Linked DNA regions of Homo sapiens: region 2 is linked to region 1. The links are contacts of gene promoters, found by promoter capture Hi-C in human tissues and cell types (Jung and others, 2019). All regions are on one chromosome and are shown on one strand. The core of a region is centred on a gene start or on the middle of the fragment in contact, and the rest is flanking DNA. Distances in the headings are between cores, read along the strand shown.

What was found. The method cuts DNA at HindIII sites, captures the fragments that hold promoters and counts their contacts. A contact is called where the count stands out against the background at its distance.
Region 2: a fragment that was not itself captured here is called in contact with the fragment with the promoter of PGF in region 1 in 4 of the 25 tissues and cell types used here (adrenal gland, bladder, lymphoblastoid cells and 1 more).

Annotation. Positions count from the first base shown.
Region 1 is chr14:74,953,573-74,958,124 of GRCh38, forward strand. It overlaps PGF (placental growth factor), which reads right to left and starts at 2,025. Exons shown (of 7, transcript NM_002632.6): 1 at 1,596-2,025; 2 at 332-374. The coding sequence starts at 1,670. RefSeq lists silencers at 1,822-1,891, 2,072-2,171. The HindIII fragment of the contact is 10,779 bases long and covers 1-4,552 here.
Region 2 is chr14:74,843,342-74,847,893 of GRCh38, forward strand. No RefSeq gene overlaps it. Among named protein-coding and RNA genes, the nearest start is that of PROX2, 31 kb to the right of the region's middle. The HindIII fragment of the contact is 4,035 bases long and covers 1-3,993 here.

The DNA of each region.
Region 1 (4,552 bases), core at 775-3,274:
GGCACTCACTCCCCACCCTGTCCTCCAAGACCCCATCCATACCCTTAAATCATGCTGGGGAAGGGCTCTGAGCCAGCTGGATGAACCCTGGCTATACTGGCCCCAGCCCCACTCTCCGTGTGCTGGTGACTCCAGCCCACACCTCTCTAGTCTCTGGGTCACCATGAGGGGATCTCTTAGGCCCTGCCAAAGTCATCACCCAGCATGTCTAGCTTGTAGGCTCTCCCCAGCTTTTATCAACCTGCACCCACGCTTCATGCCACACCTGGGCTTGGGAGAAAGGAAGAGAGGGGCTTGGGGAGCATGCGTACCCCCAGCCTGGCCAGCTTACCTTCCACCTCTGACGAGCCGTTCCCAGCAGACAAGGCCCACTGCTATGGACAGAAAAGTGCAGAGGTGAGCTGGGGGTACCTTGGAGCTCTGCACTCTTGGGCCAAGTGTGATGGCAAGAAGGTAGGGGCCCCTCTGGGTTCCTTCCCACTTGCTGCACATGCTCTGCCCTGTCTCAGAGCAGCCTGAGTACCACTAAAAACTCACTGGACCCTGGGTAGGTTAGGTCCCACCCCTCTCTGGCCTCAGTTTTCCTCATTTGGAAAAGGATGGGAGGCTAGAAGCTTTTGGAGACCCTTGGCCTGCTGCATCCCAAAGATCTTCCAATCCTGCGGGTCTGCCTTCTACCCAGCCCCCAGGCCAACCCTGCTGGGCCCTGCACAGCCCGCCTTGGCTGGGTGCCAGAGCCCAGGGGGAGGTGATCAGCTGGTGGGAGCTGAGGGGCTGGAGCGGGTGGCGCCATGAGCTGGTGCAGCCGGTAACGTTACACCTCTGGCCAGCCCTGCAGCAGGCAGGCGGGTGGCTGGGCTGCTCGGACTCCTCAGGGACTGCCCAGCCCACTCCTACTCTTGGGCTGGGGCTGGGGACTCCCAGGGCAGTGGGACAACGCAGTGGGAAGGCAGTTCATTGGCTTTGTCAGGATTTCACTGCCCAAGCTGGCTCCCAGCCAGACTCACCCGGCTCCTGGGAAAAGGGCCCTGCTCACTTCCCCAGGCCCTGCACTCAGGACCTCCGGCCACCCACCCAGGAGAAAAGGCACAGCGAGACCCCTTGTCTCGTCCCCAGCCCACCCAGGAGCCCACGGCTCAGTCCTGAGCCCTGGTGGGGGCAGGGCCAGCCTCCCCACCAACAGCTTCTTCAGCTGGCTCCTCCGCCACCCCCACCAGGCCAGGTCAGAGGTCCTGGGGACGCCTGGTTGGCCATGGGGCCTCGACCCTGACCACAAGGCCAGGGACCCGCCTGGGATTAGTGGACAGATGCTTTTAGCAAAGCCACCAGGGCTCCAGGGGCCAGACAGGAAACCTCCCTCCCTCCCTCCCTCCCTGTGGCTTCCCTGCCCCCACCAAGACAGCCCCCAGGACCTGGGGGACAGCCAGCCTGAGGTCTCTTCCCAAACGAAAGAAGTCCAGCCTGGCCTTTAGGAAGTGTGTGGACATCCTTGGAGTTGCTGCTCCCTGGAGTGGGTCTGTGATTTCAGAGTCCCATGCTTCCAGTGCTGGGATGGGGAGGTCTGGGGAGCCAGGCTAGGTGGGGGTAGCTCTTACCTGGGGGGGCACAGCAGGCAGCGCCAGCCCGGCCAGGAGCTGCAGGAAGCAAGGGAACAGCCTCATGACCGGCATCTTCTCAGACGTCCCGAGCCAGGGGGCTCCGAGGGAAAACCACCATGCTCATCCCCCGGGGAGCCCCTGGCACAGGAGGAGAAGAGCTGAGTGGGGGGCTGGACGCCTCCCTCACTGCTGCCCCGAGGCCCCGGCCGGTGGTTCGAGCATCTTCTGGAAGCCTTGCGGAGTCAGGAGCCCGTAGGTAAGGCTGTGGCTGGGGAACCCGACGGGGAGCGGCCCGGCGGGGCGGGGCGCCGAGGGGCAGGCGGGTCCCGGGGATGGTCCGTCGGGCGCCCAGTGCCACTCCAGGTCCTCCCGTAGCTGGGCGGCCGTCCGTCGATGCAGTTTCCTCCGCAGACAGCAGCTCCCTTCTGAGACTGCAGCCGGTCCGCGCCTGGGTTTCAGGGACTGAGCCGGGGCGGGGCTCCGGGCCGGCCCCGCCCACCGCAGACGAGGTTCCCGAGCCGAGTTCCCGGAGCGCCCGGTCAGCCCGCAGCGCCCGGCCAGCCCGCAGCGCCGGAGCCCGCAGTGCGTGCGAGGGGCTCTCGGCAGGTCCAGACGCCTCGCCGAGCCCAGCCCGCAGCTCCCCGGGCCGCGCCGCGCCCGCCCACAGGGCCCACAGCCCTGCTTCGGCTCTCAGGGCGGTCACCTGGGATGGGGGCATCCAGGAGTCCAGCGTCAGCCGTCAAGGCTCATGATCTAACCGCCTCTGCAGGAAGGGCCGTCCGGGATGCCTGGGAAGGCAGCCATGCCCACACCCCTAGGGGGCCAAGGGATTCCTAGCCAGGTTATATAGATGAAGAAACCGAGGCTCCGAGAGCACCCCTGCCTGCATATGTCGAATGGACATAGGCATTCTTGGAAAGTGTGTGTGTGTTGTGTGTGTGCGCGCATCTGTGTGTCCGAGGAACTGGCAGAGACAAAACCCAAGCCTACGTGACTCCAGAACTCTAACCCGACCTACCACCCTCCTAGCCAGGCACGGACACAGTGGGCCTCCCACAGGAAACCTCTCAGGGCACCTGGCTGGAGGATCAGGCCTGTTGCCTCCTTGGGAAGCAGTCTTCCCAGGCCCTCCCTGCGGGGCAGCCCCCTGTGGTAGAGAGTGGTCTCACTCAGGCATCTCCTCCTGGTCCCTGGCCGAGGAGGAACTGTACGCTGCGCGGGGGTCTGTGTGCATCTGCGCGTGTGCATGGGCATTTGCGGGTCTGTGAATATCCATGAGCGGTGCATCTGAGCCTCTGTGTGGTCTGAGTACGTGTGACTACTGTACCTCCAAATACGCCTCTGTGTGGGGGTCAGGTCTCTCTGTATCTCTGTATGCTTGTGTGATCTGTTCGTGTCCGCTGTGTATCTGGGTGTGTTTGGAAGTGTCTGAATGTGTATCTTTCGGTGGGACTGTGAGTCTGCACGCCTGCCTGTCTCTGCGTGTGTGTGTCTGTCTCTGTGGGTGAAGACTGTGCCTCTCTCTCTGCGTTTGTGTGTGCCCTCCCTTGGTTCTGGATCTTTCTTTACCACCACTCCTCTCACTGCCTTCTGTGTCCAGCTCCCAGGCTGCAGGAACCTGGCAGGACTGGGAGTCACGAGTTGGCTGGGCCTGGGGCTGGTGGGTGGCTGTGGGGGAGGAGCGAGGCCTGGGAAGTGGCCCCTACAGCTCACATTCCAGCCAAGAGCAGGGAGGCCAGGGCAGCCCCAGCTCTCACCCCAGTGACCTCTGCGTCCACTGCCTGCCTGCCTGCCCACCCACGAGGGGCTGCCAGAGATGCAGCCTGCCTGCCTGGCCGGCCCTAAGCCTGGAGGTTCAGGAGGCGGGGGCCAGTCACCAGCTGGCTAAGCGGGGTCTGCAAGGAACATCCTGACGAGCTTCAAACAAGCTGGGGTTCGTGGGGTAGACAAACTGCTTCCTGGGCCCAGAATCATTGTGGAGGGTCACTGTGCATGTGTGTGAGGGTGAGTAGGTGTGTGTTTGTGCATATATGTATTGTATATGTTGCCCATAACATCTTTGTATACATACACGTGTTTGTGTGTGTCTTTAGTTTGGGTATGGATTTGTGTATGTGGGCACAGGTGTGTATTGTGCACAAGTGTGTGCGCGTGTGCTTAAGTATCTTCATTGTATATGCTTGTCTATAACTGAGTGTTTCTAGCACTTATGCATGGGATGTGTCTATTGTGTATGAGTTTGTATTTTTTTTTTTTTTTTCTGAGACAGAGTCTTGCTCTGTCGCCTAGGCTGGTAGACAGTGGCGCAATCTCGGCTCACTGCAACATCTGCCTCATGGGTTCAAGCGATTCTTGTGCCTCAGCCTCCCAAGTAGCTGGGATTGCAGGTGTACACCACCATGCCTGGCTAATTTTTGTATTTTTAGTAGAGACAGGTTTTTGTCATGTTGGCCAGACTGGTCGAGAACTCCTGGTCTCAAGTGATCCACCCACCTCAGTCTCCCAAAGTGCTGGGATTACAGGTGTGAGCCACCGCGCCCAGCCTGTATTCATTAATTTGTTTTTTCATTTGGCATGTATTGCCTGAGCCCTGCTATGCTCCAGGAACTGCTCTAGGTGCTAGGGATATGATATGGAGGGTCTCTCTGAGTTTACATTCATGGAGTAGGGGGATACCGATGGCTGGGGATGCCGAAGTTCTCTTTCCTGAGTGAACTCAACACCTTGGGCGAAGTCTGTGGTTCCCACAAGTGCACCTCAGTCCTTCATCACTAAATTGGGGACCATACCCTTCTAAACCCAGCTTCCTGGGCTGTGAGATGAATTAGCCTAGGGTAGGCTCAGCGGCAGAGACCAAGGAGACTCTAACATTTCCATGGATTGAATCAAAGTTTGTTCTTGCTCACATCCAGTCCAGAGCAGCTGTGCTAGTAATTCTGCTCCCTTGTTTTTTT
Region 2 (4,552 bases), core at 726-3,225, 110 kb before region 1:
ATAATTTATAAAACCAATTCTTGTGTTTGCTTTTTCCCTACCTCTGTATCTTCCAGCTGGTGGCATATCAATACTTAAGGCGTAGCACATTCAAATGCCTTCAAAGGACAGGAAGATAAGTGTAAATGAGAGAATTGGCCAGTAATTTCATAATATATTTAGTTTTATTCTTTCAACAGAAACTTACTTTGTTTGCAGATTAGACATGTGGGAATATTCTTCACTCTTATAGAAAAATACCCTGTTTCTCATTCTCAAAACTTTTGGCACTCTCTTAGTTTTCCCACCTTTGGTAGAGACATAAGTACAGTATTATTTTTTCTTTACTGTGAGAAAAACAACAGCAGAAGCAGAATAAAACAGGGTACTTGGCCCTCTCAGCCTCAGGGTTCAGGAAGCAGTAGGGTATGGTGGAGGCTGGGATGGTGCAGAGTGCTTGTCCTGTCTCAGGGGACAATTCTCCAGCCAGTGGTTGGAATGAAGAAAGACAGACCCAATGTTACTAGATGAAGATAAAGTGGAAGTCTGCATTTTTATGTGAAATAGTCACAGTAGAAACAAATCACATCTGGAAGCCACATGTTACCAATAGGCTGTCATTTTGGGACTTTTCTGACATGCTCTAAAGGATGATGACAAGTCTGAAAGACAGTTATGGCAAAGAAGATATTTGTAAGAAAGGAAACATCAGGTTTTATTACATATAAATATTTTGAGCAGCACCTTTTTACTAGTATTTTGGAAAAGCATTTCTGTCTTCATTGAGCGAAGTGGCAATACATATGTAATATACTGATGCTGAATTTGCGGTGGGTTGATTTTTGTCCATTGTTGGCTTTCACATGGAAGCATGAATATTGTCTCCCCGCTACCCCTTTTGAGTGACATCCTTCCAGTACCTCCATTTCTCAAGTTGCAGGTAAGCACCTTGTGTATATACAGTTAAATAGTGGGCACACATCTATCCCAGGAAAAGAAGACAGTGAGAATTCCCTTTGGTTAAGTGGAGCAGTTGAATGGCCACTATACCTGGATGCAAATTTGATCCGAATTTTCTGCTCTAAACCCTCCACTGCTTTCTGCTGTTTCCACTGAGGAAAGAGGATGTGTGTCATTAAAGCTTTGTTGGGACCTGTCACAGTCAAGGTGGGTATAATTATGTTTAATTTATTGAAGTGTTTCTGGGCATCGTCTTTTTCAAATTCATATATTCTATCCAGAAGATGTGAATTCATTTTCATTATTAAAAAAATAAAATATTACAGATAAAGCTCAACACTCCCCCCTCCCCCTTAAGCACAAATACCTTGAATCTTAGAGGTAATTACTATTATTTTGGAGTGTGGCTTTTCCAAACCTTTTTGTGTGTATTTGTATACATATGTACTTGCCTATAAAAATACAGTTTTACTGTTTTTTACATGACTGATATTCTTTACATACTGTTCTGCAGACCTACTATGTCTTGGATACACACATGCATGTATATATGTATATATAGGTAAATATATATATAGGTAGATATAAATACATGCATTCATGTTTGTGTATATTCCATGATATGTGTATAATGGCTTACTTTTTCCTTTTTTTGTGAGTTTTTCACTGTCATACCAGTGTTGCATTGAACATCCTTGTAAATGCCTTTTGCAGGCTTATTTTCAAAAATCTTCCCTGGGGAAGATACAGAAGAATTGAATTACTGGGCTACAGGGAAACCATTTCTCTTTTTATTTTCTCCTAATAATTATCTACATGTGTGTTTTAGAAACAGTCTTAATTTAATATTGGGGGTTTCAAAATTTTTTTTCTCATTTTAAAATTCCAGTTTTATATGCTGTACTCATTTGAATTCTGCCTTTTGAATCTAGATTTGGAATTGATATGGATAAGCAAAATAGGTTCTAAGTGGTAGTGATAGTTCATAACCAGTTTGCTTTTGGAATAGGTGCTGTTTCAATCTTGGGGAAGGTAAAATGTCAATTGAGGAAATAATCTTTAATCATGAAGTTCTTTTTTCCAAGTCATTCTCTGCTCCCTTTGGAATTATGACAACTTGGATCCAGAGGTGCTGTGAAAATATTTTCTTACATCATACCTCTTCTTTTCATACAAGTTTGAATGATCCCGGAAAATACAGTTTTTGTATTTTCAAAAAAAAAAATGAAGTCTGGAACACCCACTTTTCTTAATAGGATCTAGTTTATTTGTTTAGGTAGTAAAGCTTTTATTAAAAGAACATACTTTGAGGATTTTCTGTTTCTCACCTGAGCCTTCTGTATTCACTAGATATGAAACTGAGTGCATTGGCAGGGCCTCTACTAGACCTGAAAGGCAGCATTCCCAGTGTTTATTTTCAGGGGCCAGAGGGAAGGCTATTGACTGACATTGGAGGCCTTAACCCCTGGATTGGTAAGGTTCTGGTGGAATGATTGCTTAGATTCCATAAACACTCGAATAGATGATTACTCCTTTCTGTATGTATGCATTTTTGGAAGAATGATAAAATATGAAAAGTGTGAAGAGTTGTGCACTCAAGTGGTGGTTTTGACCTGGGGAGCTTTTAAAACTCCCAAAGCTCAGGCTACACCTCATAGCAATTAAATCAGAATCTAGGAGTGGGACCCAGGCCTTGGTAATTTTTTAAAAGGCCACCAGGTCATTCTAATATGCAGCCAACTTTGAGAACTGGTGGGGTAAAGGGGATTTTAAATTTTATTTCATCTCTAGCTGATGATAGGTTCATTAAGCAAAACTTTCGAAGGCCCTGGTCTGTTGGTTAACTTTGCAGGTGTGGAAGATACAGTTGTTGGAAGGATACTTGTTAATGAAACTCTTTAAATGTGCAAAAGAAAATCCACCTAGGCTGAAAGAGTTAATGCGGTTTCCAAAGGTGCTTGATAGCCAAGAAACAGCTTAGGCACAGGGACAGTCTGGCTTCTTGGGAGCAAATAAAGCCAAGATTTAAAATGCCTTTTAATCTAAAACATATGTTTGCCCGTGGGCCTGGAAACAAGCCTAGGCCTTTGCAGTTGTGAAGTTTCCTCACGATAGACAGACATGAGTTGTGGTCCAATGTTATTTAAACTTGAAAGCTTAGAGGAGAAATTTGGTTTGTGGAGGAGGTTGTAGATGGGAGAAGAGAAGTGCAGTGGGCAGGCAGAACAAATTATTTTTCTGTGGTTTGTCCTTTCTGATTTTAAGAGGAGAACTAGTTCATAGTTCCAGTTATCACATACAAAATGGAACAAACCTCAAGAAAATGAGAATTGCTATTTTCAATAAGCTAGAATGATCTCTTTAAATTAATCTGCTTTGATACCTAAGATAATCTCTATTTGTGGCATAAGCGTCCTTATAAATGCATTCTATGGTGGTATGGACTGTTTTGCGTCTTCTTTAGAGTACGTGACTCCTTCATTAGAACTTTTCCCCAAAGATTCTGATTTCTCATTGTTTTTTAAATTTTTATTTTGAAATAGTTACAGATTCATAGGAAGTTGTAGAAAAAAATGTACAGAGAAGTCCTGGTGTATTCTTCAACCAGCCATCCCCAATGGTAACATCTTATACAATGAGAAGTGTGTGTCAAAACTTTTAAAAGCCAAGAAGTTAATGTTGATACACTCCACAGAGCTTATTCAGATTTTACCAGTTTTACAAGCACTCATGTGTATGTGTGTGTTTGGTTCTGTGCAGTTTTATCTAATGTAACTTCATGTATTTGTGTGTGTTTGGTTCTGTGCAATTTTATCTCATGTAGCTTCATGTAATCACCACCACCATAATCAAGATTCAGAACTCCATGTGGGAATGTGAAGAACTGTTAAGAGAATGAGTATAGAATGAGTCACTTTGCTTGTAGTCCCATCATGACTTAAATTCAGGACTTTATATTGTTGGGGACTGCTGCTTTGAGGGGGTAAGTAGCATAGCTTTTGCAACATAAAGTGGCTTTTTAGTTTTTTTTTTTTCATGAGATCATCAATATTGGTGCTTTTCTCAGTAACTACGCTTTTGAGTAGTTCAAGCATGGCCACTTGCTTTATTTGAAGGGAGTAAAATGAGAAGTATATGCCCCAGAGCATAAGAATCTGTTGCTGATCTTAATTTTTGGACAAATTGAATGCTAGGAAGTTCTTTTTCTGCCAAACTTCAGAACATTTGAGACCTGCTCAGTAAACAGTCATTGTATATTTTTAGTCCTAAAACAGTAAGAAGACTATTGGCCTCCCAGAGAAATGCCCTGATGTATTTGAATTGAATAGGCATGGCTTTATAATAAAGAAATAGTAACAGTCACTTTAAATAGCATATTCTAAGCATTAAGTCAACCTGTCAAACCCTGCCTCACTCACATTTTTTAGGTGATTACTGTCTCCAGAGCATAAGGATACATAATCATGTCTACTGTTCACATGGCATAAGGATAAATCCTCATGGATAGGATAATTTAAAAATTATTTTTGCAATAGTATGTCAAAATTAAGGTGTTTAGGAAAGTCCATTGTTATTAAACTTTCTGTTCCCAGGACTTGCTGATAAATTACAA